3 separate regions of the Homo sapiens genome follow, and regions 2 and 3 are each linked to region 1. The links are contacts of gene promoters, found by promoter capture Hi-C in blood cells and fetal thymus (Javierre and others, 2016). All regions are on one chromosome and are shown on one strand. The core of a region is centred on a gene start or on the middle of the fragment in contact, and the rest is flanking DNA. Distances in the headings are between cores, read along the strand shown.

Region 1 (3,756 bases), core at 603-3,102:
CCAGGTGTGATGGCACGCACCCATGGTCCCAGCTGCTCGGGAGGCTGAAGTGGGAGAATCACTTGAGCCTGGAAGGCGGAGGTTGCAGGGAGCTAAGATCGCGCCACTGCACTCCAGCTTGGGAAACAGAATGAGACCCTGTCTCCAAAATAAATAAGTAAATAAAAGACTAAGACTAATATATAAAATATAAAAATGCATGCTTATGTTTTTAGGAACTTAGAGAAAAATGTAGATGATATTAATTAACTGTTAACATTGGTTTCGTGGAGGACAGCACAGAAGAGCTCTGGGAAGGAGACGATAGGCTTTATCTTTGTGTACTTGTGTTACTGGCTTGTTGCAAGAAGCAAAAACTTTTTTGTTTGAAAGAAAAGTCCAATAAAATATTTAAAGAAAAAGAAACCCCAAAGCACTCTTGTTTAAAAATAAAAAAAAAAATCAATTGTACAGGGGTATATAAACCAGAAAGGGAAATCAGGTAATCTTCTTAGGTAACCTGCTTTATTTACTCATCAATATATCAATGGTATCTTTGTATGTCAATAAAGTAGATCTTGATTACTCTTTTAAATGGCTTTAGAGTATTTCATTGTTTGGATATATTATAATTTAATCAATTCTTTATTGTTATACATTTACAGTATTTCTAGTTTTTCTGGTTATAAACAATAACGGTTATCCTTGTATATAAATCATTGCTCACTTGTTCCAGAAGTTAAATTGCTGAGTCAAAGGATATGCATACTGCTAGCATACCTTCTAGAAAGACTGTAGCAGTTTGTAGTCCTACCAATAGTTTATGACATGAGCCTAAAGAATTATCTAAGGAGGTTAGCTGACTAGCCATTCTTCCTGTAAGCAGCAAAAAGAATTTGCTTAGATTAGTAATTGGCAACATTTCACTTCACTTTGATGTACAAAAGGATGTGGGTAGAACTACAATTGTGCATTCAGACATGATAATTCCTACTAACTGGGGGTAGGAGGGCCCACAGGAGTGTAGACTAGAAGTAGAAAGAATGAGGAAAATAAGTCTTTTGTAGCTGTATGGCGATTGAAGAGGAGATAAAACAAACTCTCCAGCTTTTCAGGTTGGGTGACTTGCAGCGCCATCGTCTGGCAAAGCCGCCAAAATCTTTCAATGTCCCTAGGAATAAAGTTGCCCTGAGTAGGGCCACTCAGGATGACGCCAGATGATATCCCTTATTATAGTTTTAGGGGAATCTCTTCCTACCTTCGCCAGTCCTGCAGTGAAAAAATGTACTTAGACTGCTGTACATTTCCAAACCCTTCAACATACAGACAAGTAATTTATACATACATTAGATGTAAAGGTGTAGAAAACCCCATACAGCTTTTTAAAAATATCTCAAGACTTAAACATTCTTCTGTTTCAACCATCCAAGATATAATAGGAAAAGACTTGCTTTTTAAAGCAAAATTGCTCTTTAAAATGTGGCATCCCTAAGTAGTGCGCTTTCATGTAAAATAAAAAAGTCCCTTTCTCGGTGTAGTAGCTGTGGGAAAATTTTATATGCTTTATATTCCAAATTGGTTTCAACTAGTGAGTTCTCTCCCGCATCTCTGCATGACTCTTAACAGCTTTACACTCTCTCCATCCTTTTCATCTCTCCCGTCTCGTCCTTTCTGTCTTCCCGCCTGCAGAGCCCGCCCCTCCCGTCCCTTCGCACAGCACCCCGCCCGCCCCTTCGCACAGCACCCCGCCCGACCCTACGGTTCTAGCCCAGCCTCACTGCTCCTTCCCAGCCGCCTCCGCTGCGTGCCGCCTTCCACGCGCTGACGTCACACGCCAGCGCCGGTGACGCGCCGGCCGCTCTCCCTTAGTCCGCATTCGCTCCAGGGTTTTGGGACCCTAGGTTGCGGAGTCCTTACCCTACCCTGGCCTCTCGAGCAGTTGTCCCCATAACTCGGAATCTAGAGCCGCTGTTGCGAGGCAGGAGCACGTGGCAGTCAAGTAGCTTCCCAGTCCCGAACGCCGCCCGTCCCCACCCCGCCGTGGCCACTAGCAACGACCTCTGTGAAGTTGGAGAGGCGGTAACGGAGGCACTCCCCCTGCTGCACCCCGCCGTTTCTACGGGGCTCAGAAACCAGTTTGTTTGTTTCGTCGGGGTAGTGTCGACCTGTCTTACGGGCGTCGCCCGAGACAGGACGGAGTCAAACCCGTGGTATCAACTGAAGACGAGTGTCAGGTGTGGAGAGTCTCAGTGCCCCCTTTCAGTCTGGACTGTGAGCTGCTGCTGGTTAGACAGTCTTGGTTTCTCTTTCAGGATGTCATTTTCAAAATGCGGGATGGTACCTCTGCTTTATTAAGCCCCGTAGGAAGACTGCCACACCTAGACTGATGCTTATTAGTCATCACCGTTATTCCTACTAACGTCCTGTGTCACTGAGGTGAGTTCCACTTGGGGGAAGGAATGACATGCAAAATGGTAAAAATCATCCTGGAAATGAGATGTGCGTAGAACTGCTTATATTGAGATTACACAGATACCTTAAGTGTTTGCAGGGAAAATACCTTAATCTCATTTAAATGTTAATTCTCTAAGACACTCTGTATTAACAAAGCGATTCTTGGACATTACGGTATTTTTAAAAACTAGAGCGGTAATGGGATTAAAATAATAGGAATCTTAGTATGGATAAGCAAGCATTTGCATTGCTTATGTTGTGTCCAATCTTAAATTACTGATAAATTTTAATTAGGAAGCGAATATGAGTAGTAGTTAGCTGGTTACCCTGTAATCTTAGATTTCTGTTTCCATGATTTGACACAGTTTCCATATGTAAGGCATTAATTGTTGTACTACTTTAAGAGTTTATCATAACTTTTTTTGCAGGCCTATTTTTTGTTCTTTAAGATCTGCTTTAGGAAGCAGAAATATTTTTTATTGCCTTGGTATGTTTCATTAGAAATGTTTATGAAGGATTAAAAGTGGCATCCAATCTAAGTTAATGACCTTTTTTTATGATGCAGCAGTATTGTAGAGCTGATGGAGGGGAGCCAAATTTGGAGAGAAGTAACTCCTTGTTTCTAGTTTACATTTGTCTGGTTTTAGAGGTTCTACAGATCTGTTTCACTTAAAATATCCATTGTTCTAGGTGAAATGTAAGGAGCCTATTTTGTGGGAAAACAGGTTTTTTTCACGTTAAAAGTCACTGTCAGGAATTTAATAAAGGTCGTCGGACTTGACCACAGAAGTTCTTTTGAGGTCGTGTGAATAGTACATTGACATTGTATTCCAAGTAAATTTTGCCCTGTCTAATCTCCTGCCTTCTAGTCTAAGTCATGAACATGACACCTTTTCACGAATGTACATTCTTTATTTACCTGTTGGTAGTTTCTACTACAAAATCTGTTGAATATTGTCTGAATAGACTTACAGAGAAGAAAAAATATTTTGAAAAAAGTCTAATAGAAATTCCATTTTTGCTTTCTGCTTTTTCGAATAAAGGAAGATAAAGAACTTTTTTCCTGAGAAGATAAATGGATCCCCTCCCACTATTCAAGATGGTATTTATTGCTTAGGCAGAACTGTATGTATGGATTGTAGCTGCATACAGCGCCAAAAGACTTCTTGAAACCTGTTGCCATGCCTTTACCATGTTTCCCTTCAAGACAGCCTGTCTATAGAATATCTGAAACACCTGATGAGAGCTTAATGCTTAACCTAAGTATGTGTTCCAGATTGATCGAAGTTGAGCTTTTCCATTCATATACTCTAAAATTGTTTA
Region 2 (3,647 bases), core at 293-2,792, 620 kb after region 1:
GTAGTAGCTGGGATTACAGGCATAAGCCACCACACCTGGCCTATATCTTTAGAGTTTATCAAATATAAATCCTCATTGGGCAGGAGCCATGCATTTACCTTTTTGAGCAAGAGTGTCCCTGTTCCTAAAGAGTTCCTATAAAAATTGAACTGGGTTTTTAATCACATATATGGAACTAAACTAGAAGTATCTTTGCTCTAAATTGGTTTAATGCTTGTCATTTCAGTTATCTTTTCGTCGAGTTAAGAAGTGATAACTTTGTAGCCAATTGGAAACCTCTGACTGTCCAGGTGATGCAGTAGCATCATTTGTTGGACAGTGGCATCTACTGGTAGTCTGTAAATTTTATAGCCTAGTTTGAAAGGCATTGTTAATATATACCTAGCAAAAAGGGGAGTAGAGCACAATTTCCAGAATTTTATAAATGAAGTGAAAGAATGATATGGGGGAGAGTCCTTTGGGGCCAAGGAGAGAGAGCACAGACCGGAAAGTAATACAAGTAGTAAGAAGGGTGTGTGAGTTGTTTAAGGACTATTAATCTCTCTCTTCAGGTCTGTGATACATGATATGGAACCTAAGAGACCATTTATATGTCATGTCCTGGGTTGTGAATATATTTATAAATGAAGATCACGTGGTTCATAACCTTTAATATAAAATGACATGGAAGTTCCATACAGCCCAGAGTAATTTATCATTAGAGACTAGCTTTACATTTTTAATTTAATTTCTGATAAATTTTATTTAATTTCTGATAAAGTGGGGACAGATACATGAGTTTTAAAAAGCTACAGACAGATTATTAGGGCAGTAAAACTATTCTGTCTGCTACTGTAATGGTGGACACATGATATTATGCATTTGTCCAAACCTGTAGAACTGTACAGTCTAAAGAGTGAACCCTTAGCTTGTGAAGACAAAATGGTATTAATAAATGAATACATAAATATATAAAATAAAGAGTGAACCCTAATGTAAACTATGGACTTTACTTAATAATGTATCAATATTGGTTTATCAGTTGTAATAAATGTGCCACACTAAGGTAAGATGTTAGTAATGGGAAATGGAAAGGGGGGGGTGATGTGAAAAGGGGGTGCATGGGATCTATCTGAACGTTGTGTTCAATTTTTCTGTAAACCTAAAATTCCTCAAAAATGTAAAGTTTATAAATTTTTTAAAAAGCTACAGAAAATGAAGAGAGGCTCTTTGGACATGTTCATGTCCTCCATAGAAAATAACATAATCAAAGAGGAAAAACCAGCATTGGTGAATTCATCCCTTCCTTTCAACTTGGCCTCTCTCACCCACTTTACTTTTAGTGCAGAGTTCAGTGATGGCTAGCAGCTGTCCCCTGATATTTGTTATTCCAAGTATCCATTCATAGGTCTGGGGAGAGATTGTGGCAAGCTTTCCCTAAATAAATCACACCCTTATCTTCTAAGCTTGAGCAGTGGAGGGAGACTTTTCATTCGAGGTGGGTGGCTGAACATCATCATTCCTGTTCTGGACTTCTTGTAATCATGTTGGATTCAGAGGGCACCACTCTCTCTTGTACAGATCTGACCTAACATAGACATAGACTATAGCAGAGATGAATCCAGGCTATAACATTTAACAAGACCTTATTAAAAGCTTCAAGATGTTAGCCTTTATCTGTTCCATATCTAGCTTACTTGGTTGTTTTTGGGGGATCACATGTCTGTCCTCCAAACTGGAAACGTCTAACTCTCCAGGAGATGCAGTAGCATTATTTGTTGGACAGTGGCACCTACTGGTAGTTTGTAATGTTTATAGCCTAGTGTGAAAGGCATTGTAAATGTATACCTAGCAAAAAGGGGAGTAGAGCAAAATTTCCAGAGTTTTACAAATGAAATGAAAGGATGATATGGGGGAGAGTCCTTTGGGGCCAAGGAGAGAGAGCACAGACTAGAAAGTAATACAAGCAGAAAGAAGGATGTCAGCCCATGTCTGTGTGGTAGAGGTCATCTTTCCATCTCACTGGGATTGTCCCTGAAAGTGTCTCACTGCTTAGGTCTCCTTGCCTGTCTAAGGCTTGGAGACCTTCCAGTATCTCATGCCTTATTCTAGATCTGCTTTTTTCCCCGAGGTGAAAAAACCTGTTCAAATGGTCACTCACAACTTTTGTGGCCTTACTTTTTGTCTCCGAAAGGACAAACATATCAGAACTAACATCCACCCAGAAGAAGGGCTGATCAGTTCCTTTCAACACAGCATGGATGAAAACCCAGGTTAGCGTTAGTGCTTCTTGAATTGGAAGTATTCTAACCTCTATGTACCTACCAATGTAAGAACTGAGGGCCCTTTTAAGGGAACTTACATTCCTAAAGTTCAAGTCAAGTTGTCATGAAGAGTACTTAATGAGGCATACTTTTAATCTTTGAATCGTAGTGTTGTAGGGCTAAAAGAAACCTCAGGCCAGGCTGCATGGTGGCTCACGCCTGTAATCCCAGTACTTTGGGAGACCAAGGCAGGCTGATCACCTAAGGCCAGTAATTTGAGACCAGCCCAACCAACCTGGTGAAACCCTGTCTCCACTAAAAATACAAAATTAGCCTGGTGTGGTGATGCATGCGTGTAATCCTAACTACTCGGGAGGCTAAGGCAGAAGAATTGTTTGAACCCGGGAGGCGGAGGTTTCAGTGAGCTGAGATCATGCCATTGTACTCCAGCCTGGGTGACAGGAGCCAAACTCCGTCTCAAAAAAAAAAAAAAAAAAAAAAAAAATTAGCCAGGCGTGGTGGTAGGCGCCTGTTGTCCCAGCTGCTGGGGAGGCTGAGGCAGGATAATTGCTTGAACCTGGGAGGCAGAGGTTGCAGTGAGCCGTGATTGTGCCACTGCACTCCAGCTTGGGTGACAGAGCCAGACTGTCTCAAAAGAAAAAAAGCAAAAAAGAAAAAACAGAAAAGAAACCTCAGAGATCTGTCATTTTCCACCTATTACATTCATTTTATGATACAGAAATGGTCATTCAGTTGCAGATAGTACATGACTGTTGGGATCAGGCCCCCAAATCTGGCCATAAACTGGCCCCCAAACTGGCCATAAACAAAATCCCTGCAGCACCGTGACCTGTTTGTGATGGCCATGACACCCATGCTGAAGTTTGTGGGTTTACCGGAATGAGGGCAAGGAACACCTGGCCCACCCAGGGTGGAAAACCGCTTAAAGGCGTTCCTGAACCACAGACAATAGCATGAGCGATCTGTGCCTTAAGGGCTTGCTCCTGCTGCTGATAACTAGCCAGACCCATCCCTTTATTTCGGCCCATCCCTTTGTTTCCCGTAAGGAATACTTTTAGTTAATCTATCATCTATAGAAAGAATGCTTATCACTGGCTTGCTGTCAGTAAATATGTGGGTGAATGTCTGTTTGAGGCTCTCAGCTCTGAAGGCCGTGAGACCCCTGATTTCCCACTCCACACTATATTTCTGTGTGTGTCTTTAATTCCTCTAGTGCTGCTGTGTTAAGGTCTCCGTGACCGAGCTGGTCTTAGCACGTGACTTTTCTCGGGTGATAGCTTTAATAGTATCAGCAGAGCAGGGAACAGAATCTAGTTTAATGTGTCCTAATCCAGTGGTTTTTTTTAACCACAAAATACTGCCTTTGAGAAAAGGCCAGGCCAG
Region 3 (3,653 bases), core at 910-3,409, 690 kb after region 1:
TCATTTTCTTTCTTCCAAAATATCTGAGGTGGTGGCACTCCCAATACACGACATTCCAGCCGCACTGGGTACCCATCAGCAACTCCTGTGTTTTGGAGCTTCTCAATAAACACAGGGGGTTTGTGTGCTTCTTTAGCTAAGAAAACATGAGATGAATTCTCTATCAATGATATACAAAAGGAGCACTAGAAAGAATTCAGAAGGCTTTTGGAATATTGCTTGAATAGATCTTTTATGATACCATTTTTTACTCCAGGTGGTAAGATGCTAGTCCCCTCTCCAAATTATTCTTTTACCAAGCAAAGGTCTGTATACTTCATTCCGCTCATTTATTTCCTCAATTAATTCAAGTCTGATAGGCTCACACTGTCCACTGGCCATCTGCTTCACAGAATGCCTGTCTGACCAGCTGTGGGAGACTCCTAAGTCATTGCTAGCATCTGTGATGGCTTCACTACTAGTGATTATGTTACCGATCATTCACAGCCTCAACCAACTACTGCCACCTAGTGGTGCTGAGGACAAGTATTTCTAGGAATTTGACCACTTAGATTCCCTCACTGCCGTTTGCCATGTTTGCCATGAATATTCTGAATATTTGTAACTCTTAAGTGAGACATGCCATAGAATTTAAAGGGGGCAATTTAAAGGGGAGGCATCTTTATCTAAATTTGGCAGCTTTAAATAGTTACCTGTAAACTAGGAATGTATATCCTATAAATTACAAATTCCACTTTGTATTCTTTGAAGGTTATAAAAAAGCTTTATTATAACCTTGAAGGAAGGAACCCATTAAAAAAAAAAGACAACTTTAGTACTATTCTGAAAAATTCAGGACTGATTGTTAATAACACTCTGAATAATACCATCCAATGGGAAATTGTTTTCTTGGATCAGTTGTAGTAGTGGTGGAAAGTACTTCAGAGAATGAATAAGGTTTACTTATTTTCTTTTGAACTACCAACAATGAATCTGAGAATGCATTCCTTTTCCACCACTACTCCCTCATCTGGAGTGACAGATATATCACAGCAAAGCAGCTAGGAAAGAGCTCAAAAAGGATGAAAATTCTACCTGAACTTTTCAAATGCTTAATACTCTCCAACACCACGAGTTAGTTAGAAGGTTGGATTTTTATTGAATTTTACATGGTTGCCCATCCTAGGCTATTCTGGGAGAAGTGGGAACAGAAGCTCACTTTGTATTCTTTCTGGGGCTCCAGTTTTGCAAAGAACATAAAATGTATAAAACAAGTCTTAATGTCATAGCAACTCATCAGTAAGAATAACATCTACCACTTTGCAGCATTGCTGTGCAGGGTACTAGTTATGCAGAGCTTCATACACATTTTTATGATTTAATCCTTAGGAAAGCACTGTGAGGCATTATATTCCCATTTTATATATGGAGAAACTAAGTCGCAGAGATAGCTATTTGCCAAATGTCACACTAGTAAAATCGACAAGAGCCGGGACTGGAGCAGATCTGACCCCAAAGACTTTGCTTCCAATTACTGTGCATCACCGTCTTCTGACAGGAGTGCCAGCTGATGCGCACTGAGGTATCTATGTGATCAAAAGGCATATTTAACAGCAGAAAAGTGAAGTTTTAGTTTGAGGTTAGAGGAATGAAATCAATTGTAGCATGTAAGAATATAGAGTACTTTGTACAAAACTTGAAAGCATGGCTAACCTGTAGCACCACAGTCCACATATTTACCACATTTTTATGTGAAAACATCTTGGTACCATTATCAGAATCATAATCCAAGAGTTTTGTCAAGACTTCTTGGGTTTTATTCTCATTGCTACTCTATTTCTTGAAAGAGCTCAGTGACGTAGTGTGTTTAGAAGAGCACTAGGAGTCTTGTGTTAAATCTAATCATCAGCTTACTAAGTGGGACCCTGGAAAATTCAGAGAAGATTTGCTCTGATTATCTCATAAGGCTCATGTGAGGGCCAACTGATACATAATGTACATGAAGCACTTTGCATAAAGAGGTAGAAGAAATAAATGTTTTGTTATGTTCTTTCTTAAAAGAGATCAGGTACTCAACACCTAACTCTTAAGGATGGTATAAAAACCTTTCCATAAATGTGTTTTCCTTTTAGGCTTCTCAAAGCATAAGACTTCATGTAACAGCACTTTTACAGAATTTACCTACACAATAATCAGTGAAAAAGCAAATCTGAGTGTAGTTTGACAATGACTATGAGGGTAGATGACAGTGTTGTTTTAAAAACCAGGTGTGTGTGTGTGTGTGTGTGTGTGTGTGTGTGTGTGTGTGTATATATATATATATATAAATATAAAACTTTATATATAAGCAAATTCTTTGGTTCTTGGAGTCCATGCTGCTGTTACTATTTCTCTATGTAACACTAGGGGCCACTATACACACAGGAGGTCGAATGACCCAAAAGAGCTAATAAAATCTTTTTCTCTCTTTGCCAGGTTAGTGGGAGAAATGAAAGATTTCTGTTTCTGTTTTGCTAGGCCTTATAACCATGTCCTCATTGGCTATTTTGATGATACAATCTATTTTTTCAATACTTTATTTTCCGTATTGGTTAGTAATGTAGAATTAGTTTACATTTGTAAGTCTGATGTTCATTCTGTCAGAGAGCAAGGATTCACAGATGAGCCTACCAGCAACCACAAGCTCCAGGCTGAATGAGTTCTGTCCTGCTCGGTTGGTAGCTATACATGTGTAGATGCCGGCATCACGTGACGTGACTGGCTCTATGATCAGAGAGTGCACCCCGTTCTCACGCACCAGCATCTTGTGAGCACTGTCAGGGCGTACGGGCTTTCCATCTAGTTGCCAGCTTAGATCTGGGGTTGGTAACCCACTGACCTAAATCATAAAAGAAATACATGTAAATTTTTGTATTAAAACAGAGTGAAATCACTGGTAGCTAAGAAGTCTGCATAAATTCCTCCTTCAGTAGTACAAGAGGTGGCTTTTTTTTTTTTTTTTTTTTGGACAGAGTTTCACTCTTATTGCCCAGGCTGGAGTGCAGTGGCACAATCTCAGCTCACTGCAACCTCTGCCTCCCGGGTTCAAGCGATTCTCCTGTCTCAGCCTCCTGAGTAGCTGGGATTACAGATGCCTGCCACTATGCCAGCCTAATTTTTAGTATTTTCAGTAGAGATAGGGTTTCACTATGTTGGCCGGGCTGGTCTTGAACTCCTGACCTCAGGTGATCCGCCTGCCTCAGCCTCCCAAAGTGCTGGGATTACAAGCATGAGCCATTGCACCGGGCCAAGAGATGGCTTTTAGTATCAGCTCATGTTACTCTTTTGCTTAAAACTTTTGCTTTAAACTTTGGCTTCCTGAGCACTCACCAGCTTACATCTAAACAATTCTTACAGAGCAACCTAGAGAAGACCGAGATGGGATTTAAAAAATTGCTGTCATGGTCTTACCTTGCCCAGGGCTATGGAGATTAATGGGATGATATCAGCACCAGGCTCTGGGCTTCTTTGAAAAAAGATGTCCAACAATAATAACAAATACTCAGCTGGCATTTATATATAGTACTGTAAAGCTTCTCATCAAGGAGCAGCCATAGTTATGGAGAATGCATTCGTCAGCACACAGGGCTGCTATTATTATTTTATAATCCTTGAAACTGAATAACAAGAGCAAT

What was found. Contacts are between HindIII fragments. The CHiCAGO score rates a contact against its expected background, and 5 or more counts as called.
Region 2: a fragment that was not itself captured here is called in contact with the fragment with the promoter of NEK1 in region 1 in 3 of 17 cell types (total CD4 T cells, total CD8 T cells and total B cells); the score reaches 8.7 in total CD4 T cells.
Region 3: a contact is called between a fragment that was not itself captured here and the fragment with the promoter of NEK1 in region 1, in 2 of 17 cell types (naive B cells and naive CD8 T cells). The highest score is 7.4, in naive B cells.

What each region holds. Positions count from the first base shown.
Region 1 is chr4:169,610,679-169,614,434 of GRCh38, reverse strand. NEK1 (NIMA related kinase 1) reads left to right here and starts at 1,852. Exons shown (of 36, transcript NM_001199397.3): 1 at 1,852-2,213; 2 at 2,292-2,415. RefSeq lists enhancers at 1,780-1,839, 2,260-2,379. The HindIII fragment of the contact is 11,256 bases long and covers 1-3,756 here.
Region 2 is chr4:168,993,847-168,997,493 of GRCh38, reverse strand. All of the region lies in intron 4 of CBR4 (carbonyl reductase 4), which reads left to right. Among named protein-coding and RNA genes, the nearest start is that of CBR4, 15 kb to the left of the region's middle. RefSeq lists enhancers at 1,571-2,376, 2,377-3,183. The HindIII fragment of the contact is 190 bases long and covers 1,448-1,637 here.
Region 3 is chr4:168,920,738-168,924,390 of GRCh38, reverse strand. PALLD (palladin, cytoskeletal associated protein) reads right to left here. Exons shown (of 22, transcript NM_001166108.2): 18 at 2,650-2,857; 19 at 1-136. It also overlaps a transcript of CBR4 not described here. Among named protein-coding and RNA genes, the nearest start is that of CBR4, 88 kb to the left of the region's middle. The HindIII fragment of the contact is 2,789 bases long and covers 765-3,553 here.